Linked DNA regions of Homo sapiens: all the other regions are linked to region 6. The links are contacts of gene promoters, found by promoter capture Hi-C in blood cells and fetal thymus (Javierre and others, 2016). All regions are on one chromosome and are shown on one strand. The core of a region is centred on a gene start or on the middle of the fragment in contact, and the rest is flanking DNA. Distances in the headings are between cores, read along the strand shown. Region 1 overlaps LOC105375724 (a long non-coding RNA gene). Region 2 overlaps EXT1 (exostosin glycosyltransferase 1). Region 3 overlaps LOC105375724 (a long non-coding RNA gene). Region 4 overlaps EXT1 (exostosin glycosyltransferase 1). Region 5 overlaps EXT1 (exostosin glycosyltransferase 1). Region 6 holds the start of EXT1 (exostosin glycosyltransferase 1). Region 7 overlaps EXT1 (exostosin glycosyltransferase 1).

Region 1 (3,198 bases), core at 427-2,926, 240 kb before region 6:
TTCTGTTCTTGGCCTCGGTCCTAGACTCCCAGGAAATTAATGGTGCCTCTTGGCCTGTGACAGTCTGTGTTTACTTCCTGGAATTGGCTTCTGGCTTTGATTGGCCTTGAGTGTCAGGGCTTCCTCGGCCCAGGTGGGCCAACTCCACTTGGGACTGTTCTGGTTCCCTCAGGCTACCTTTGTCTGACCAGCTCATCCTATAGTCTCTGAAGCCACAGGATTGTTGTCTGTGCCTTCCTGTGATTCATAGCACGGAGCAAAGGATCAAAACAGCTTGAGCTGGAAATAACTTCATTTACTTTTTTAAAAAAGTAATAAGCGGGCCGGGTGCGGTGGCTCACGCCTGTAATCCCAGCACTTCAGGAGGCCGAGGTGGGCAGATCACGATGTCAGGAGATCAAGACCATCCTAGCGAACACGGTGAAACCCCGTCTCTACTAAAAACACAAAAAAATTAGCTGGGCGTGGTGGCAGGCGCCTGTAGTTCCAGCTACTCGGGAGGCTGAGGCAGGAGAATGGCACGAACCCCGGGGGGCGGAGCTTGCGGTGAGCGGACGTCACACCACTGCACTCCAGCCTAGGCAACAGAGCGATACTCCATCTCAAAAAAAAAAAGTAATAAGTGGTCAGGAGCAGTGGCTCACGCCCGTAACCCCAACACTTTGGGAGGCCGAGGCAGGTGGATCACTTGAGGCCAGCAGTTCGAGACCAGCCTGGGCAACATGGCAAAACCCTGTCTCTACAAAAATTTAGCCAGGCATGGTAGCACATACCTGTAGTGCCAGCTACTTGGGAGGCTGAGGTGGGAGGATCACTTGATATTGGGAGGCAGAGGCTGCAGTGAGCCGAGAGGGCACCGTTGCACTCCAGCCTGGGCCACAGATTGAGACCTTGTCTCAAAAAATATAAAAAATAAAAATGAGTAATAAACACAGTTGTAGCAGTTGATGTGTCCTAAGCACTGTTCTTGTTTTACAGGTAAGGAAACTGAGACACACTAAGGTTAAGGAGCTTGCTATACAGCTGATCACTGGCACAGCTGGGAAACTAGCCCCGGCAGTCAGATTCAGTGCGTGCAATGTTAACCCCTGACTGTGCCACTTTGCCATGCTTAGAGGTAGCCTAGTTCAACCTCTTATTAGATAAGTTATTCTATAAAAAAGCTCTTAACACACAGTAAGAGCTATGTAAGAGCTAGTTATTATTACTAGTGTGTTTGATGATGGTGAAAACTGAAGCCAGACAAGTGATGGAAGTTTATCCATTTAGTCCAGGATTTCACAAATTGTATTCTGTAGAACATTTGTATCAACAGGATGTTATAAGTGTTCTTTTTAAAAAATATTATAGTCAAATAGGTTTGGAAAATATACATTTAAAAAACAGCCTTTTATAGTGTAGTACTTCTCAAACCCTTTAATATGCTAATATGCATTATTAATCTTCAAAAAGCTGTAGTATCCAGACTTTTCCCACCTTTCCCCACATTTTACACATATTTGAGACCATTGTGGAGAAAGCAGTTAACATAGCAGGCCTTAGATTGTTTTCCTTAGAAGGTTGTGATTGCAAGGTTGGCCCCTGCTGGTGTCTAGAAAACTTGGGTTTTGGGAGGGTTCCCACACTCCCTAACCAGAATGGTTCACTGTGCCTGAACTGTTTGTATAAACAGTGTCATTTATGCTGAACACCTGCTTTCCTTCTGGGAGCCTAGAATTTTGGCACATGCTAGGAAGGATCCCCACTAAAAACCTTGGACACTGAGACTGGGCCCAGTGGCTCATGCCTGTAATTCCAGCACTTTGGTAGGCCAAGGCAGGAAGATCACTTGAGCCCAGGAGTTCAAGACCAGTCTGAGCTACACAGCGAGACCCTGTCTCTACAAAGTAGTTTTAGAAAATTAACCAGGCATGGTGGCACGTGCTTGTAGTCCCAGCTATTCAAGGTGGGCCATGGGGGTAAAGGGGTACTAAGGCAGGAGGAATCCCATGAGTCCGGGAATTCGGGGCTGCAGTGAGCTGTAACTGCACCACTGTACTCTAGCCTGAGCAGCAGAGCAAGACCCTGTCTTTGACAACAACAGCCACCTTGGCCACTGAGTCTCTGATGAGCTTGCCTCATAGACATTTCACATGTGTTGTCACAACTCCTTGTTAGAGGAATTCAACACATCCTGTATGACTCTACTAAAGGAAGGACTCTTGTTGGCTCATGCCTGATTTTCTCTGGACTCTGTCCCAGGTGCCTTTTCCCTTTGTTGATTTTGCTTTGTATCCTTTTGCTATAGTAAATCTTAGCCATGAATACAACTATATGCTGAGTCCTGTGAGTTCTCCTAGTGAATCGCAGAACCTGGGGTTGCTCTTAGAGACCCCCTGTCACATCCAGAAAATTATTTCCCTCTCAATGCCGTTTAACATCTCATGGGTCATTTGTTCTACAGCATGCAGCCCTGAGGAGCTGTTCAATCCCACAAGTTAGAGGCAGACATTAGCCCACATAATTATTCTGGGCTTTTGGTGAAAAATGTTAGGGTTCCGAAGGCTCATGTGGAATAGCACTTTCTTCCTGCCTGGGACACATAGATTGAATATATATTGAGAGAGCAAAACTGACTAGTACATTTCTACCACCTTTCTGGAATATTCAGTTGGGAAGGATAAGCCTGGAAACAGTAGCCTCAAGACATAACCATCCTTTATGTTCTTCCATTTTTAGATTTAGCTCTTTAGCCCATATTAAAATTATTTGTATAAATCTATATTACCATGTGTATGAAATTATAATAAAATTACATATATAATTTATATAGTTTTATAAAGTTTGTTTACTACATCTAATCAGAAAACCCTACTAAAGGGATTATATGGCTTTTGGGGCCTCATGCCGGAGCCTGTGACATCCCTCGATAATTATGATTTCCCTGAGTTCATTTTACAGAATAAACAGATGCACCAAGGGTCTCCAGAGAGCAAGTAGGCTGCTGCGGTGCAGGACAAGCCAAATGGAGACGGTGGTTAGCCCCAGCATCTGTTCTTTCAGCACCTTTCCTGGTACTCCTCCTCCTCCACATTCTTCATGGCTGACTTGTCTTCCTTTTATGTGTTTTCCAGATGCCAAAAGTTATATTTGCATATCCTCTACCATGGGTGGGGAACTGTGTCTCCTGCAGTCCAGCCGGCTCCACTTTACTCCCCT
Region 2 (3,120 bases), core at 192-2,691, 180 kb after region 6:
GCTTTGAAGTTCCTAATAACTTTTCTGTTCAATAGTTTTCATGCTTATGTAAATAGACACTCTAACATTTAGAAGTTAAAGCACCCCCCCAAAAACCTCAAATATATAACTTGGCCTGAGACTCTATTTTTCTACTGCAAAATTCAATATGGACAATTGAGTTTTAGTAAAACTACGTAATTTCGAATTGAAATAATTTAAATTGCTTTTGTTTTAAAAAATTTGTATTTGTGCATAATAAGTTACATTTCAATAAAAATAAAGTAAATGCATTCACTTGACTTATTTTCCGCGTGGGCATTTTCTTCTTCATATATGGTCCATAATTACTTAAGCTTGAGACTCACTGCTTCGACTTGCAAACAGAACATTTCAAGTGATCAAAAATCTAGGACCCAGAGGGAGTGAATGCACAACTTTAGGATTCTGACCTTAGCTGCAATAGAAACCTTGAGTGACTTTTAAGGCTATGATGTCCTGGTAAAGAAATATACCTAAAACATAGATGGATATGATAAAGTAATGGAATTTTGCATCATGCAGCTATTCTCTGCCAGCATGTCCGGCAACAGACATCTTTGGAAGCATATTTTTGAAAATAGGTATCCTCGTTCTCTTCATATCATTTTATTATTGATCTCTGAAAGACTGATAACCTTGGTAAAACAGCCAGCTCAATGTGTAGCCAATAACCACGCCTAGGTGTCTGGCTTCCCCCTCTCTTATTCCCACCTCCCCCTTTTCCATCTCCTTCTCTTCCTCCTTCCCTCCCTCTCTCATAGACCTCCCACACCCCCGCCCCACACAAAATATATATATCATTGTAGTTTATAATTTATAAAGATTTATCAATTGCTAATATATCAGTTATTTATTTATTTATTTTTATTTCTAAGCATGCCTCCTTTGAAGGGCATATGTATGTCTGTGTGAGTATATACAGGAAATGTATCCATGTCTGGAAAGGGGCCTCCATCTAGACGCCAAGTGAGAGTTCTTGGATCTTGTGAGAGAAAGAATTCAGGGCGACTCCATAGAATAAAGTCAAAGCAAGTTTATTAGGAAAGTAAAGGAATAAAGAATGGCTTTCCAAAGGCAGGGCAGCCCCGAGGACTGTTGATTGCCTATTTTTATGGTTATTTCTTGATTATGTGTTAAACAAAGGGTGGATTATTCATGAGTTTTCCAGGAAATGGGTGGGCAATTCCTGGAACTGAGGATTCTTCCCCTTTTTAGGCCATATAAGATAACGTCTTGGCATTGCCATGGCATCTGTAAACTGTCATGGCATTGGTGGAAGTGTCTTTTAGCATGCTAATGCAATACAATTAGCATATAATTGAGCAGTGAGGATGACTAGAGGTCACCTTTGTTGCCATCTTGGTTTTGGTGGGATTTGGCTGGCATCTTTACCGCATGCTGTTTTATCAGCAAGGTCTTTGTGACATGTATCCTGCTGATCTCCTATCTCGCCCTATGACTAAACACAACTAACCTTCCGGGAATGCAGCCTCCTAGTAGGTCTCTGCCTTATTTTACCCAGCCCCTACTCAAGATGGAGTCACTGTGGTTCAAACACCTCTGACAAATCTGTCTGCCTGTTGGAAAGGACTTTGTCAACTTGTCATGTTACTTATATAAATATAGAAATATGTATTTAAAACTTGATGGACACTTCACCATCACACTCTCTTCTCCTCTCCCACATCACTCTAGCACTGATCCATTTTTAGAAAAGGTTTTTTTGGGGATGGGGGTTGACCAGATGTGGATATTTAGAGATAAGTCTATAATCTTCCAACTGTAGAAGTCTTTATGTCTTTGAGTCTTGCTTGTGTGTGTAAATGTCCTATTTTTTTTTTTGATATATGAATAAAGTAATTAATTTGCATTTAGTTGCTTAAGCCTGTCTTCATAGCCTGGGGAGAAATGATGGCTGACACTTGTCATTCTCCACCCTTCCGCTCCCCACATTTCATTTGGTACTTCATTTCTTCCTCTTGAGGTGTGAATATCTCAAGAAAGATGTTGACTGGTCCCACTGGTTGGGATGACAATGAGTGATAGGTAGTCTTGCACTTCTTGATCAATGACAAGATCACCCATTTGGCAAACTCTTCCTCTTCTCTTCTGTCTTTATTTTTTTTTTTTTGAGATGGAGTCTCTCTCTGTTGCCCAGGCTGCAGTGCAATGTGCGATCTTGGCTTGCTGCAACCTCCGCCTCCCAGGTTCAAGCAAGTCTGCCTCAGCCTCCCAAGTAGCTGGGATTACAGGCATCTGCCACCATGCCCAGCTAATTTTTGTGTTTTTAGTAGAGATGGGGTTTCACTGTGTTGGCCAGGGTGGTCTCAAACTCCTTACCTCAGGTGATACGCCTGCCTTGGCCTCCCAAAGTGCTGCGATTACAGGTGTGAGGCACCACGCCTGGCTGCTCTTACACTTTTCTATGAGACACATTACAGATAGATGCCCATATTGAGATACATACCCATATACGGATAGATATCCATGCTGAGAGAAGCATGTTAATCCGGCTGTGAAAGCTTTATAGTTAGGAATTTCTGGGAAGATCTTCACCTTTGGCATACTCCTTCAGTCTCATCCCCTATGTCCCTAATAGAAGCAGTAATGGGGAATCTGTCATGATGACTTACTAGAAAAATCTATTGAGCCTGCTTATGATTCTTTGGTTTTGGAGGAGGAGGGCACTAATTTTCATTGGTTCATTCATTCAAAAATATTAAGTTCCTACTCCATGTCTAATAACTGCCTTTCTGGCTAGTCTGTGAGCATGGCAACGGACGGATGATGTCTTTTGTTTTCTGTTGTGTCTCTGATGTCTTTCACATTGAAGAGCAGGGAGGAAGTGCTCGTATCATATTTGTGCCAGAGTGAGGAGGAAGAGGGAAGCACTCAGAGCTGACACTTCCTGTGATTTAGCCTTCTGCCTGTGGATCATCTTTTCATCTTTTTTGAGCTCATGTTAGTTTCTCTACTACCTGTGCGTTTCTTTACCTTCCTTGGAGTATTTCTTCCTTGAGCTCAGTGTTGCAGGCACTGCTTGGTCAGGCTTAGCCCATAGACAGAAAATACTTATTGAGTACTTACTGTATATATAGC
Region 3 (3,170 bases), core at 320-2,819, 180 kb before region 6:
TCCTGTTTTCCCAATTTTCACGTAAAAAAAAAAGAAGTTTGTTTTCTTCTTTCTAACTGCCAGCACTGTGAACTAAAGCGGGATCCTCCCCATTTCCTTCTCCATAATTATATAATACAGTTCCTGCTTTCTAAACTTTGTTGACAATTCTGTTGACAGTACACACAGAGTAAAATACATCCCAGTCTTCCTTAACTAGATGAGCCTAATCACTTGTAAAAATTCCCGTTAATCAGATTAATGTACCCAGATCCAAGCAGATGCTCAGAGAGCACATAACAGGAGAAAGGATGTACGAAGTATCACTTTTCGTTGCATGACCCTACATGATTCTTTTTTATTTTCTGATTATTGACAGTAGATGTGAGATAATATTTATACTCTGCATATTGCAAGAATTTTAAAAAATATTTTACTTTTTATGTTTTCATCCTTCTGCTTTTACTAAGAAGTTAAGTTCCTGTTTATCCCACCACTCAGTCCCTCTTACAAATACAGTTTTGTGTGCTGGCCTATTCATAAATTATTAATGTCACACTGAAAAATACCTTTTGGAAATGGACCCCCTGACATAAAACTATTGGTGATTGAGGAGCTTCAGGGCACGTGAAGCACTCCCAACCCGACTGGTGAAGAAAGCTGCTGAAGCTCTTCTTCCTCTGGTGAAACAATTAACTTTATGTTCCATTTGCTGATGACGCCGCATGCCTAAATTGATCATGTTTTTTAAACCCATGCCAGTCTTTTCAGCCTGCTCAGCTCAGGGGAAAGTCAGGATGTACAGTCAGGCTCCAGTGCTTTTGGGTAGAAGTGAAAAGATTTGCACTCATTGAGCAAGAAAATGGCATTCCTGGCTGTCAGTGTGGAAGGAAGGGCTTTTCTCTCCAGTGCTGCATGGCAGACTCTCTGCTCTTGTCCCTGAATGTCAGCTCATGCCTCATTGCTAAGTAAGTGTTTTCCCCACCTAACCTGACAGGTAGGTGTCTGACATGACAGCAGGCTGCCATCACACTGGGGAGCAAGGATACCCCAAACTTGGAGCCAGTTCTGCTAAGCTAAGTCAGTTTTGCTAAATGTTACTTTGATTTCAGTGTATTATTAGCTTTGAGATATGCCTTGAGTGCCTTAGAGATCCAGTGTGAGAATGGTTCGCTAGAGCTGGCTTCTGTCTGATGACTGGTAAGGGGTACCACATTTTTCCCACTGGCATTCCAACCCCTTCATCTCTTCCTGCCACATCTTATCCATCAATGGGAATCAGGTTTTGCCAACAGACTGGTTATGAAAGGAGTTGGGATTCCTTGAAGAAGTGAGCTTTGAGCCCCGAGAGTAGGGGATATCACTTTGAGAACTATGACCTGCCTGTACATTGGGGGTATTGGCATTTTGCATCTTCAGCTGGCTTCTAGCAACATACATCTGGTTCCAATTTTCACCACAGTGTTAAAATTTTTAAAAAATAAGTAAATAAAGGCAAACTGGCTATGGTAATCCTAAAGAAGATATAATTTCCTAAGAACATAAATTGCTGAGGAAAACCATGTATTTTTAAACCAAATATAAATTGACTTCTGTATGTTTCTGTTTTCAATGTTATATATTGTCTTTTCATTAGCAAATATTGGTTAAATGCCTAGCCTGTGTCACCACTAATGTGGGCAAAAAAAGACATTTTTCTGGCCCTCAAGAAGGTAACCATCAAAGTAACTTTCCCTTCAGTCATCATGAATCATCAGAGTTGGTTGTATTAAAAATCCACAGCTGAACACTTTACACTCACTATTTTATCTTGTCTAAATCTCCCTGTTGTAAATTTCAGCATCTCTTGTATAAACTTAGGGGACTAGGTCTGGGTAATCCTTAATGTATCTGGAAAACATTCAGCTGGTTTCTGCCATTAGCACTTATGTGGTCTTAGAGATGTTGCTTAATGTTTCTGAGCTTCAAACACAGCATAAGAAAAAAAAAATGCCCAATTTGCAAGGTTTGTTATTGATTTTTTTTGTTTGTTTGTTTTTTTATTATTATACTTTAAGTTTTAGGGTACATGTGCACATTGTGCAGGTTAGTTACATATGTATACATGTGCCATGCTGGTGCGCTGCACCCACTAACTCGTCATCTGGCATTAGGTATATCTCCCAGTGCTATCCCTCCCCCCTCCCCCCACCCCACCACAGTCCCCAGAGTGTGATATTCCCCTTCCTGTGTCCATGTGATCTCATTGTTCAGTTCCCACCTATGAGTGAGAATATGTGGTGTTTGGTTTTTTGTTCTTGCGATAGTTTACTGAGAATGATGATTTCCAATTTCATCCATGTCCCTACCAAGGACATGAACTCATCATTTTTTATGGCTGCATAGTATTCCGTGGTGTATATGTGCCACATTTTCTTAATCCAGTCTATCATTGTTGGACATTTGGGTTGGTTCCAAGTCTTTGCTATTGTGAATAATGCTGCAATAAACATACGTGTGCATGTGTCTTTATAGCAGCATGATTTATAGTCATTTGGGTATATACCCAGTAATGGGATGGTTGGGTCAAATGGTATTTCTAGTCCTCAGATAATGGAATGAAGACTAAATAAAGTCTAGACTAGCCAAGAAGTAGAACTAAATAGAGGTAGCTATTATTATATTGTTGTTTTTTCTATGAATCTGTGAACACTGCCTTTGATCCAAGGTCTCCGGAATATGTGTGTGTGTGTGTGTGTGTGTGTGTCTGTGTGTTTGCAGTTTTGGACATTACTTTATTATTATTATTATATTGTTTATTTTTTCATAGGTTATTGGGGTACAGGTGGTGTTTGGTTATAAGAGTGAGTTCTTTAGTGGTGATTTGTGAGATTTTGGTGCACCCATCACCCAAGCAGTTTACACAGCACCGTATTTGCAGTCTTTTATCCCTCGCCCCCTACCCCCTCCTGCCCTTTCCTGCAAGTTCCCAAAGTCCATTGTATCACAGAATGCATTTTAGTAGGCTTACCAAGATCCCCTGATTCTAGCATGCAGCCATTTATAATGGGCAATAGAATTCAATTTCTAAAGCATCGCCTTGTAGCACTTTTCCTCTTTTATATACTCACAAGCAGAAGCACAGATAAGAAAAGAAACATACTATTTGCTTTCACCAGGTGAAACAGGAGCATGCTTAGGATCCATTGCTG
Region 4 (3,190 bases), core at 531-3,030, 140 kb after region 6:
TTTACGTGACCACAATTAATTCATGGAGTGGGTTTTTTGGTGGAGAGCAGGGGTGCTGAGCATTCTTTAGCCCTTCATCGCCAATATTAATTTGAATGGCTTCTGTACCTCCTTGTAATTGAATTATTAATAATCACAAAGAGCTTATAAACTTCGAATTTAATCTTCATTAATATATAAAGCTCAAAGAGTAATGTCTTTTGACCATGAGTAGACTGCTTCTCTAATTTATCTTCAAAGTTGCTTTTTTTTCTTCCTGTAAGTTTCTGTAGTCCCCTTGACTCCTAAAAGTGAGTGTCATGGAGTGGCTTTGATCAGGGAACATACATCAGTAACTGTTTTGTGACCTTAGTCCCGGCTGTGTTTTATGGCTTGGCCAAAGTTTATCATATAATTTCCACTTTAGGAATTTGCCCACTTACTAAGGCTTTGAGGGCAGGGGAGGTGAAGTAGTATTGTGGGAGAGGAGTAATAAATGTGTTTTCTTTTCAGTTTCTACAGTGAGTGGTCTGTTTTGAAATGAGTGCAGGTGGTTGCAGTCCACTCCCTCCCCAAACAGGACAAATTAAGATCATTTTGCTCTTTCGGGAAGCTGAGGGCAAGCCTGCACAGGTGAGGTCACGAGAGGCAAGCTATGTGCACACCTGGTGTCCTCGTGCTTCTTGGGCAGGCCAGCTCCATGCAGTGCAGTGCCCCTGAAGGGAATGGGGCCAGGAGAAGACATAACAGGGCATGAGGATCTTCTCTGTGCCAAGAATCATGCTAGGTAACCCCCCTGAGATTTCTCATCCTCTTGAGAATCCTGTGAGATGATCCTGCTGCCCTTATTTTTCCAGATGGAAAAACGGATTACCCAGGATTCACCGCTTGTGAGTGGCAGAAAGTGGCAGCATTAGAACTGCTGCACTCCATGGATACATCCAGCACATGTGCTCTCCTCTAGTGTGTGATTCCGGTTCATTTAAGTCAGATTTTGGATTCCACTCAATGAAGTTTGTAACTGCTAAGTTGTGATGTGAGCACTTAGATCACCAAGAATTTCAACTAACCCACTATGCTCAAAGTGTGGTCCATGGACCAAGTACCTTGGAATCCCTTGAAAGCCCCTGTTGAAAATTCAGATTCCTGGCCGGGCATGGTGGCTCACGCCTGTAATCCCAGCATTTTGGGAGGCTGAGGCAGGCAGATCACAAGGTCAGGAGTTTGAGACCAGCCTGACCAATATGATGAAACCCCATCTCTACTAAAAATACCAAAAAAAATTAGCCAGGCATGGTGGTACACACCTGTAATCCCAACTAATCAAGAGGCTGAGGCAGGAGAATCACTTAAACCTGGGAGGCGGAGTTGCAGTGAGCTGAGATCACGCCACTGCACTCCAGCCTGTGTGACAGAGTGAGACTCCGTGTCAAAAAAAAAAAAAAAAATGTAGATTCCTGAGCCCTGCCTCAAACCAATTAGGTCAGAAGTTCTGGGGGTACAGCCCAGGTGTAGGTTCTCTGGGAGAGTCTGTCATGCACTAAAATTTGAGAGTCATGCCATAAAACCTCTTTATAGTGCTCCAGTATAAAAAAGATCTTGGGGTTAAGCTTAGCTAAACAAATACGTCTGCAGGCTGGCAGTTCATGAATTCCACCTAAAGACTATCTGGTTTATCCCTCATTTTACACAAAAGGAAACTGTGGTTTAGAGGGTTGAAGTAACATGTTAAAATTCTCATGGCTTTTTTGTGGTAGAGCAGACACTAGAATCAGTTCTCCTTCCTCCGGTCCATAGCTGGCTGCTTCTAATCTTTTAAAAATCAGCTAATCAAGGTAACTTGGATCCATTTCAATCCTGTCAGTGACCCTACGTTCAATATAAAAGATGAGTCCTGGGAGAACTGCCGTTCTGATTCACATTCATCTGAATGTTGAAAAAGTGCATTTCTTCAGAGTGCTCTGTAGGAGGTGGAAATATTCAATAAGCTTGCGAGAAAGGTTTCCATCTCAACCACACCATGTGTGCATGTGCATGCACATACACGCGTGCGCGCGCACACACACACACCACTGCCACCACCACATAGCTCAGATCTGTCACAACATGAGGGAGGGGACTCGCAAACATGCATAATTTATGCAGGATTTTCACGGATTTTTCAGTATTTGGAAGTGATTTCTTAAATTATACATTGAAACAGCTCCATAAAGATGAAGCTGGAGTTAGTTTCACAATAGCCTTAAAAGTGAGAGAATTTGCGTCTCTGGGATCAATGTGCATATTTCAAAGTGAGACGTTTCACTTTATAGAATTTAGAGGGTCTCAAGGCTGTGGTTGACATTTTTAGTTTGTTGGGCTAAACAACCATTTGCTATACAATACTATGGAAACGAATGGTGGAAGAGATTGCCCTGGAAAACTCTGTTCAATTCCGTTAAGAAATATTAAATTCCTGAGGACAATCTACTTGTTTATTATTTTCAATTTCTCTTAAAATAGTATAAAAGGATCTTCTTGGGTGGCAGTACAGGGATGACAAGGAAGGGACCAAATCTCAGTTGTTCACATTTTTACTTAGTTTGGATTCCAAATAATGGGGCTTCTCATAAAAGATTTGGACCCTGCCCCGAGGCTTTTGGTAATAAATGTGGCCGCTTTGTTTTTTTCCCTAATTATTTCATTCGTAAAAGTCTTATCTTCCCAATAAAGATGGTAACTCCTCTGGACTGGGTCTGCTTTTCGCATTTTCCTTCTTTTATATACCACCATGGTATAGAACTTATTTTTGCTTAATAAACAGTTTGGACATCAGGAAGAGACAGAGCTGTATACAATAGGTAGTTTACAGTCAAATATTTACTGCTTTAAATAAGGCAGAATTGGCTGGGCACAGTGGCTCACGCCTGTAATCCCAGCACTTTGGGAGGCCGAGGCGGGCGGATCACAAGGTCAGGAGATCGAGACCATCCTGGCTAACCTGGTGAAACCCCGTCTCTACTAAAAATACAAAAAATTAGCCGGGCGTCGTGGTGGGCGCCTATAGTCCCAGCTACTCGGGAGGCTGAGGCAGGAGAATGGCGTGAACCCGGGAGGTGGAGCTTGCAGTGAGCCGAGATCAAGCCACTGCACTCCAGCCTGGGTGACAGAGTGAGACTCCGTCTCAAAAAAAAAAAAAAAAAAAAAAAAAAAAAAAAAATAAATAAATAAA
Region 5 (2,975 bases), core at 16-2,515, 160 kb after region 6:
AAGGCATCATAATATATTGGTTTTATAAGAAATGTTAAAGAATGGGAGAGGTGATAAAACAGTTGCAGGGATGACCCAACTACATGGCTGCATAACACACTCTAATCTGAAATGGGAGCAGAGGCATCATTCACTCTCAGTAATTTGGCGCTGGTTGTTTGGCACATTGAGTCATAAGCATTTGAGTCTTCCACGGTGGCACTGTCACCATACATGTGACCCACAGATTAGATACGAGATAGGTGGAGTGGAGAAAGCAGAGTAGCTGAGAGAGTACTTGATGAGGCTGTTTGCTTCATTGGGGCTCACAGTGCTAAGAAAAACCATTTGCAGAATCATGGGAGCAGAATGATCATTTCTCCTATAATCTGGGGTCCCAGCCTTTAGGATGTATCCCTATTCAATGTAAAACACTAGGTTTTATTCAGTGAATGGCAGTCTAGCATGGTTATGCTAGCTGAATGGTCTTATAGGGAAAGATTATAGCAGATATATGTATATATATGTATATCTATCTATCTAACTATATATCTCTATATAATTGGTATAGTTGGCTAAGTGACAGCTGAGGAGCCAGCTGGATCAGAGTTCAAAATAAGGTGACAGTCTACAAATCCCTGGAAGACTGGAGCAACAAAAGAGGGAATCGTTATTTGGACACAGTGGGGAAAGTGAATGAAAAGAAGAAAGGCAAATTAATTAAGATAATTAAAACACAGACATTCTTGGCAATATTGAAAGCTATTTAATATTTGGCTTTCTAACTCTACTATTCAGTCATTTACAAAATATGGCTTATAATATGTCAATTGATGAATAACCTTTATTTTACTATAAAATTCATGAACTTCTTTGGTCTACACAAATCCATCTTCCATTTTCCATGGCTTACCTCATTTAAGCCAATGCAAAACTGAAAGTGGGGAAAAGAATATTGAGGCTTTATTATGAAATGCCTTCTCATCCACTTTTTTTTTTTTCAGTCTCCCTGTGTTGCTCAGGCTGGAGTGCATTGGCATGATCTTGGCTCACTGTAACCTCCGCCTCCTGGTTCAAGCGATTCTTGTGCCTCAGCCTCCCAAGTGACTGGGATTACAGGCATGAACTACTACACCCAGCTAATTTTTGTGTTTTTAGTAGAGACGGGATTTCATCATGTTGGCCAAGCTGTACTCTTGACCTCAAGTGATCTGCCCACCTTGGCCTCCCAAAGTGCTGGGATTACAGGTGTGAGACACTGCGCCTGGTGTCTCACCATATTTTTTGAGGGTTGATTATATTTTCCTTCTAAACATAGATTCCTTAAATGACTGTCATTCTCATCTTCCTTTTTCTGCTGTTTAGCAGGCTACCTGGAAGGCAGTACTACTCTGTAAATGTTTGCCGAATAGTTTTTGAACAAGTATGAACCAACTATATTTTAAAAGTAATTTGACACTAACTTTGTATTCAGATAACATTGTAGTATTTCATAATTTATTACCTATACCAGTAATGTGTATGCTATTTAATAAAGACAGAATGTGGTGATGTGTATTTAAAAACAGGATTTTTATGACTGATGTGTGCTGGGTGATTTTCCTAGGGTAATTACCGAATTAGTTCTTTTGGAAGCCACTAGGAGCTGTGTTTTTATGTGTTCTGATACTAATAATTTCTGACATTGGTTTAATTTACTCTTATGTTAGATAAGGTCCAAACCATCTAAACCAGGGTCAGCAAAATAGTTAATATTTTTGGTCTTGTGAGCCATATGGTCTCTGTCACAACTCTTCAATTCTGCCATGGTAGCTTGAAAATAACTATAGATCTTACATAAATGAGTGAGTGTGGCTGTGTTCCAATACAACTATTTAAGAACCTGAAATTTGAATTTCACATATTATTCTTCTGTTGATTTTTTTTTCCTAATGCTTTAAAAGTGTAAAAATCATTCTTAGCTTGCAGGCTGTACCAAAACAGGTGGCAGGCCAGATTTGGCCATGGGTTGTAGCTTATAGACCTGACATAGTCCACGTCATCTATTAAGTGTGCTACCAGCAGAGGAAGTGGTCTACATAAAGAGGATAATTTCTAAATCAAGAGTAGCCAGAAGAGTGGCTTGTATATAGTCATTTGTCTATGTCTCTATCACAGTCATAATTCCTTTGGTTCTTGTTATTTGTCTTTTTCCATAGGCAGCAGGTATCTTCCATGAAGGCAGAGCCATGACTCATTCTTCCCTTGTGTTCCCAGGGTCTAGTTTGTATGAATGTATGAATGAATACATGAATCAAGTTTACATCTCAGAAATTGGTGCTGTGGTTACTGAATTACAAAATATGAAATGTCTTTTGAGAAAATCACAAAAACAGGAGTCTGCTTATGCCATTATCCCATTTGCTGTGAGACCCTGAACCTATATTCTCACTTTCATAAACAGGCTTTGTATAACATGTGAAAGATAGATGAGTAAAAGAGGCCAATTTAGGTAGGGAAATATACAAATCATTTCAGAAAGACTTCCATTCCTATTGACTCCTGGTTGCCAAGTTATTTCTGTTCTTCCCTTAAAATAACCAGTCACGATAACACTCTAAAACATTACCTCTTCTCTCACTTTCTCCTTTTACAGAGGGATTGATTAGCTCTCAGAAAAGGTTTCCATAAGGAAATGATCTCAAATACAATTAGGTTTTTTAACTAATGTGTATTCATATTATTATTTCTGACATTGATTTAATCCTTATCTTATTTGGGGTCCAAAAATCAATAAGGCTCCCCCCAAAATATAATTTGCCTCTTTGGTTATAAGTATAGAAACTTACAACTTTTAAAAAAAAAATTTTTGTTTCTTCATGGAGTACAATGTAGAAAGCCAGTACAGTCCACCTGTTAAACATATGATAGGGTGATATGCCCAGTCTAGTTACAGAAAGCTCCTGGTTAGGACCCAGTAAAACAATCAAGGTGAACTTGAATAACATCTTTGTGTA
Region 6 (3,116 bases), core at 407-2,906:
TGTATTTGGAAGATGACTGAATCCTTATTCCTGTCCCAGGCCTCTCTACATTGTGCAGGGGGTTCAAGTCAAATCTGGAAAAGCTGTCTCATCTTTGGCAGGTCAGAAATAGGGAGAGGCTTCACGAATGTATAGTAATGTCCCACCCATGCCCCTTCCCTGCTTTATTAAAACAAATCTGAAACAACAGAGGTCTGAAACTTTCCACTCTATCATTTCATACTGCCTTGTTATAACCCTGCCCTTCATCCACACCCCGCTGGGGTTTTTGCAGCCTGAGGGAAGCCGGGAAGTGTCTGCTCCTAGCTCTCAGTCACTCCCATAATAAACAATCACTAAACAGCCGGCTGCCCTAGGCAACTGTCTAGCTTGCCCGAGCCCTGAGACTTTAGCTAGGCCAGAGGGTGGGAGGTGTTTTCTGTAAAGCAGTGTTCAGGATCTGAGGCCAGGGAGTTTGACTTTGACCAGAGATACTGTTTGGGAGCCTAGCACATCTTTGTGGACCTGGAGGATCTTTAGCGGGACTGCTCCTCGGTTACCTGAGTTATCTAATGAAGTTCTTCCACTGGGAGTGGCAGGAGCTTGGGCCAAGGAGTGGGAGGTCAGTGAGGGAAGGACCAACTATTTGGCACTAATTGTACATAAGGTAGTTTTCCTGATGCAAGTGTTCCTTCTATAGCTGGGACAGTTGGCAATTCTACCAGTCATATGTCCTTAAGAGATATCTTTAACACCACCACCACCACCACCACCACCAAGAGAATAACATCACTTTGAGGACTGGGGCAAGCTTAAATTAACTGGTTTCCCTGCAGCCATTAGAAAATTTATTTTTTCTCTGTGATTGGATCTCTTGGAAGCTTTCTTCATAATAGACAGAGGGGGCTCAGGCAAGGCGGCCTAAGTAGATAATGAGGATTTAGGATAGCCGTCTTACACTCTTAGCACAGAGGCAGGCATGAAGAATTGCAACAATTCCTCTTGATTGTAATAATTCCTCTTTATTGTTGGGCATTGGGGTGTTTCTTTGGTTTAAAAAAATGTGCTATGTAGAGGAGGAGTAAGGGGAGATTGTTTTAATGCTTAGCAGAAAATTGAAATACTGGGTCTCGGAGAGTGGAAGGAGGGCTGGGAGAGGCAGCTTTCGGATCGGCGGTCGCTTTCTATGAAGTCTTCCTTTCCTCCCTGCTTCCCTCCTTCAAAGCATCTTTCTCTAGGCGTTCCGGCAGGCAGCCCAGGAGGCCAGATTCTCCAGGGCGCCCGGGGCCGCGCGGCACGGGGCCCCTGCCGGTGCCTCCTTCCCCGGCCGCCGCGTTTCCGCAGGCGCCTCTGGTCCCCGGCACGGCGCAGGCCGAGATCCGGGCCTGGGCGCGCCGAGGGGCCGCGGGGCTCGCACCGGGCCGTCCCGCGCTCCACCTGCCCGGCAGCCCGCCGGCAGCTTGCAACCCGGGAGCCCCGGCTCCCTGCGCCCCCTACGCCCCCAACGCCGCGCCGGCGCCTCGGCCCGCGGCCGGGGGTTATGAATGGGCGCAGCGGAAGCACCGCCCCCCCCGGACGTGACGCTCGGCCAATGGCAGCGCGGGCTGCGTGGATGGATGAGGTCAGCGCTGTCGTGTCGGGAATGGAATGTGTAAGTGTAACATTCAGAACCGGGTAACATTCGGCGACCGAACGCGGCGGTCGGCAGCGTTCGCGCGGGGGCCTGCGAAGCGCTGCTCGGGGCCGGCACTGCCCGCGGGGAGGACGCGCCGCCGCCGCCACCCAGCGCCGCCGCCGCCGCCGCCTCCAGCCGGGCCGCCGCGCGTCCCGGGGGCCGGCCCCGCGAGCGCAGGAGTAAACACCGCCGGAGTCTTGGAGCCGCTGCAGAAGGGAATAAAGAGAGATGCAGGGATTTGTGAGGTTACGGCGCCCCAGCTGCAAGATGCACTAGCCGGCTGAACCCGGGATCGGCTGACTTGTTGGAACCGGAGTGCTCTGCACGGAGAGTGGTGGATGAGTTGAAGTTGCCTTCCCGGGGCTCATTTTCCACGCTGCCGAGAGGAATCCGAGAGGCAAGGCAATCACTTCGTCTTGCCATTGATTGGGTATCGGGAGCTTTTTTTTTCTCCCCTCTCTCTTTCTTTTCCTCCGTCTTGTTGCATGCAAGAAAATTACAGTCCGCTGCTCGCCCGCCCTGGGTGCGAGATATTCAGCCCCGCTCTCTCCCGTGCATTGTGCAACCCAAAGATGAAAGACCGAAGGGGAGAAAGTTAAAGAAATCGCCCACATGCGCTGGATCAGTCCACGGCTTGGGGAAAGGCATCCAGAGAAGGTGGGAGCGGAGAGTTTGAAGTCTTTACAGGCGGGAAGATGGCGGACTGGAGCTGAAAGTGTTGATTGGGAAACTTGGGTGATTCTTGTGTTTATTTACAATCCTCTTGACCCAGGCAGGACACATGCAGGCCAAAAAACGCTATTTCATCCTGCTCTCAGCTGGCTCTTGTCTCGCCCTTTTGTTTTATTTCGGAGGCTTGCAGTTTAGGGCATCGAGGAGCCACAGCCGGAGAGAAGAACACAGCGGTAGGAATGGCTTGCACCACCCCAGTCCGGATCATTTCTGGCCCCGCTTCCCGGACGCTCTGCGCCCCTTCGTTCCTTGGGATCAATTGGAAAACGAGGATTCCAGCGTGCACATTTCCCCCCGGCAGAAGCGAGATGCCAACTCCAGCATCTACAAAGGCAAGAAGTGCCGCATGGAGTCCTGCTTCGATTTCACCCTTTGCAAGAAAAACGGCTTCAAAGTCTACGTATACCCACAGCAAAAAGGGGAGAAAATCGCCGAAAGTTACCAAAACATTCTAGCGGCCATCGAGGGCTCCAGGTTCTACACCTCGGACCCCAGCCAGGCGTGCCTCTTTGTCCTGAGTCTGGATACTTTAGACAGAGACCAGTTGTCACCTCAGTATGTGCACAATTTGAGATCCAAAGTGCAGAGTCTCCACTTGTGGAACAATGGTAGGAATCATTTAATTTTTAATTTATATTCCGGCACTTGGCCTGACTACACCGAGGACGTGGGGTTTGACATCGGCCAGGCGATGCTGGCCAAAGCCAGCATCAGTACTGAAAACTTCCGA
Region 7 (3,200 bases), core at 309-2,808, 220 kb after region 6:
CATTTATAGAACACTTAACTAACCCATGTTGTCCTTTCTAGGATATATATATATATAGTGGTGTGACTCTATGTGGCAATGGCCTTTGGGGTTTTGCAGAATGAGAACTATTATATTACTTTATTCAGCCGATTTCCCAAGCTGTTAAGCAACCAATTTTGAAGATCTGAAACTCATGCTGTCTCCATCCACAAGGACCATGAATCTATATGAATGTAATTGTTTTATTTAATCTATTATTATATCATCTATCATTTTTATTTTCACCATAATCTTGACACAGTTCATTATAGCATAAAATGATAACCTCTGTGAAAATGACTTCATGTGTATTTCTATGAACTGCATGTTTGTCTGGGTTCTGCAAGTCTGCAGACTTTTTGCTTTTACTATGTTCTTAAAAATTAGTGGTCTGAGAAGAGGCATTATATTTATTTATTTATTATTAATTATTATTATTATTATTATTTTTGAGATGGAGTTTCATCTTGTTGCCCAGGCTGGAGTGCAATGGCGTGATCTCAGCTTACCGCAACCTCCACCACCTGGGTTCAAGCAATTATCCTGCCTCAGCCTCCCGAGTAGCTGGGATTACAGGCATGCACCACCACACCCGGCTAATTTTGTATTTTTAGTAGAGGCAGGGTTTCTCCATGTTGGTCAGGCAGGTCTCAAACTCCCGAGCTCAGGTGATACGCCCGCCTCAGACTCCCAAAGTGCTGGGATTACAGGCGTGAGTCACCGTGCCAGGCCCGAGAAGAGGCATTATATTTAAATATAATAGTCTTATTGTATTTTATCAGTTTCTTGATAATAATCCTTTAAATTATGGATATTTGATCAAAAAGAGAGGTCAGATAAGCAATGAGAAAGAGAGAAACTAATGAATAGAAAGAGTAAGAAAGGGGGCTGGGCATGTTGGCTCACACCTGTAATCCCAGCACTTTGGGAGACCAAGCTGGGCAGATCACGAGGTCAAGAGATCGAGACCATCCTGGCCAACATGGTGAAACCCTGTCTCTACTAAAAATACAAAAATTATCTGGGCGTGGTGGCACGCACCTGTAGTCCCAGCTACTCAGGAGGCCGAGGCAGGAGGATCGCTTGAACCTGGGAGGCGGAGGTTGCAGTGAAATGAGATCGTGCCACTGCACTCCAGCCTGGCGACAAAGTGAGACTGTGTCTCAAGGCAAAAGAAAAAAGGGTTGAAGATGTTCCTGGAAACATGTTTTGCTTGATGCAAACTCCTTACAAAATATTTTTGGAAAATTTCTCCTGCCTTAGTCAAGGAGAAGGAAATATCTCAGAGTCACGTAAATACTATTCTGAAAGACCTACCTAAAAAAATAATTGGCCAATAGATATCTTAGAAAATTAAGGTATGGTCTAGAACATAAACATAACAATATTTGTTATATATTACAAATAAAAGACAAAGGTGATCCCATTTTATGACAAGAAAGCTTTCTTGGTTGAACTGTTAAACAGAGGCTATATCGTCAATGGCATGCCTACTATGATTTATTTCATTCCTGTTATATAGATGCATATTAAGGTACAGAAAGATCAGTTATCCTGCCAAAAGTCACCTAGCTGGGAACTCATAAAACTGGGATTCAAACTCTGGCCATCTGACTTCAGATTCTAAGCTTTTTTTCTTTTTTTAAATCTTAAGCTTTTAACCTCTGTCCTATATTATTTGGGTTTTCCAGCTAGGAAGATTGAAGCCCTTGAATAATTTTGCCCATTTAAGCACCACTTCATAGCAGGTAGAAACCACCCCTTCTGAAATTGACAAATGGGAATGGACATAATTGCCTTGAACATGGAATGAGACGAACAGGCAGATGGCAGAGATCTAGGAGTTTCTGCAGGATTTTGCCCAGTGGTGGCTGATGACTGGGTAAATATCTAGTTTTTATCTCTAAAGTGTAGCTTTTCTTTGGAATTTGACATTTTGGTGCTTAGCCAACTTGCAGGAGAATCATCCGTCACATAAGTTGAGTAGTGTGGCAATTTGTTTTAGTAGCTATTTACTAAGTCAACAACCTAACTGCTTTGTCTTTGAAAGTAGGAGTATTCATGCTCATTTATATTTGGGGGACATAGCAGGTAGCACCAAGTATTTGTGTCATCAAATTGACTGGCATGCCACTTGTGTAGTAGTATTTCTAGTAGAGCTCCCACTGGAATGGAAAGAAACTAACAGAACACTGGAACCCTAGTGAATAGCATTCACCATGAGAATGAATTCAGTGCAGTATAAGGTGGTTTCCATTTTGTACTACATCAAAGAGGATTTAATTCCTGAAATACCAAAAAACAAAACAAACAAACAAAAACTTTATTCTGAAGCCAGCTCATTTACAAGGTACAATTTTATATATACTGCTATTTTTGCTATTTTTTGCTATTTTTTGATCTTTATATGTCAGGTATTTAGTAAATATATTCATCTCATTCGTGAAGTGTTTATTATTTGTTCCATCGTATACATTTTAAAACTGAGATTCAGGGAGAGGTCACACAATTGGCTTGCACACAGTCATGCAACTTTTAACTGGTATTTGAAACCAGGTTCAATAGGCTCAAAATTCTAAGCTCATTCCACCATACTCTAGGATCTCCTGCCAGCCCTTGATTAAAGGTCAAAGGGCCAATGTCCACTGGAGCAGTCCACAGAAATGCTGGCTTTTACAGAGATAATGGAGTTGGGAAGCCCCCAGGTGTACATGTGGATTATAGTGACATATGAGAGAAGGAAAAAGATTAATGAATTCTTTCATAGGATATCTACTAGGGAGAAGCTCTAAATTTCCTCAGAATATGTGAATGGCTATCAAAAATACAGAGACAGGACAGGAAGAAAAGTCTTGGTGGAACAAGTTGGTAGGAGTCTCTTGAAGAACTTCAGTATCACATTTTAAGCCAAGAAATAGTTTCCCCTCCTCTAATGGTATGTTACCATTTTGTACCTGTAGGAGGCACTGACATGTGTCTTCATCACTGTGTCTCAAAGATGACATTCTAGATTTCTTTCTTTCTTTTTTTTTTTTTTTTTTGTCTGTTACTTTCCATTTTCAGGGAAAAAAAAATCTATTTTAGGGTTTCCTTCTCCTCCCCTGCCAGTACGGTTAATATTGCCAGAACAACTTTAGACTTTAGATATTAAGAAACATTGGCTTAATATGACAATTTGA

What was found. Contacts are between HindIII fragments. The CHiCAGO score rates a contact against its expected background, and 5 or more counts as called.
Region 1: a contact is called between a fragment that was not itself captured here and the fragment with the promoter of EXT1 in region 6, in 2 of 17 cell types (fetal thymus and endothelial precursors). The highest score is 6.2, in fetal thymus.
Region 2: a fragment that was not itself captured here is called in contact with the fragment with the promoter of EXT1 in region 6 in 2 of 17 cell types (monocytes and endothelial precursors); the score reaches 8.5 in monocytes.
Region 3: a fragment that was not itself captured here is called in contact with the fragment with the promoter of EXT1 in region 6 in 1 of 17 cell types (monocytes); the score reaches 5.1 in monocytes.
Region 4: a fragment that was not itself captured here is called in contact with the fragment with the promoter of EXT1 in region 6 in 1 of 17 cell types (monocytes); the score reaches 7.1 in monocytes.
Region 5: a contact is called between a fragment that was not itself captured here and the fragment with the promoter of EXT1 in region 6, in 2 of 17 cell types (monocytes and endothelial precursors). The highest score is 9.5, in monocytes.
Region 7: a fragment that was not itself captured here is called in contact with the fragment with the promoter of EXT1 in region 6 in 14 of 17 cell types (M2 macrophages, monocytes, M1 macrophages and 11 more); the score reaches 17.6 in M2 macrophages.

Annotation. Positions count from the first base shown.
Region 1 is chr8:118,345,795-118,348,992 of GRCh38, reverse strand. All of the region lies in intron 4 of LOC105375724 (a long non-coding RNA gene), which reads right to left. It also overlaps a transcript of SAMD12 not described here. Among named protein-coding and RNA genes, the nearest start is that of EXT1, 240 kb to the right of the region's middle. The HindIII fragment of the contact is 6,948 bases long and covers 1-3,198 here.
Region 2 is chr8:117,929,136-117,932,255 of GRCh38, reverse strand. All of the region lies in intron 1 of EXT1 (exostosin glycosyltransferase 1), which reads left to right. Among named protein-coding and RNA genes, the nearest start is that of SNORD168, 9.8 kb to the right of the region's middle. RefSeq lists an enhancer at 891-1,448. The HindIII fragment of the contact is 2,208 bases long and covers 338-2,545 here.
Region 3 is chr8:118,291,905-118,295,074 of GRCh38, reverse strand. All of the region lies in intron 4 of LOC105375724 (a long non-coding RNA gene), which reads right to left. It also overlaps a transcript of SAMD12 not described here. Among named protein-coding and RNA genes, the nearest start is that of EXT1, 180 kb to the right of the region's middle. The HindIII fragment of the contact is 3,735 bases long and covers 1-3,170 here.
Region 4 is chr8:117,968,542-117,971,731 of GRCh38, reverse strand. The region is part of intron 1 of EXT1 (exostosin glycosyltransferase 1); the gene reads left to right. Among named protein-coding and RNA genes, the nearest start is that of SNORD168, 49 kb to the right of the region's middle. RefSeq lists a silencer at 1,688-1,747. The HindIII fragment of the contact is 378 bases long and covers 1,592-1,969 here.
Region 5 is chr8:117,950,760-117,953,734 of GRCh38, reverse strand. The region is part of intron 1 of EXT1 (exostosin glycosyltransferase 1); the gene reads left to right. Among named protein-coding and RNA genes, the nearest start is that of SNORD168, 31 kb to the right of the region's middle. The HindIII fragment of the contact is 5,777 bases long and covers 1-2,975 here.
Region 6 is chr8:118,110,366-118,113,481 of GRCh38, reverse strand. It overlaps EXT1 (exostosin glycosyltransferase 1), which reads left to right and starts at 1,656. Exons shown (of 11, transcript NM_000127.3): 1 at 1,656-3,116. The coding sequence starts at 2,436. RefSeq lists silencers at 1,234-1,613, 1,714-1,803. The HindIII fragment of the contact is 5,337 bases long and covers 863-3,116 here.
Region 7 is chr8:117,885,357-117,888,556 of GRCh38, reverse strand. The region is part of intron 1 of EXT1 (exostosin glycosyltransferase 1); the gene reads left to right. Among named protein-coding and RNA genes, the nearest start is that of SNORD168, 34 kb to the left of the region's middle. The HindIII fragment of the contact is 186 bases long and covers 1,466-1,651 here.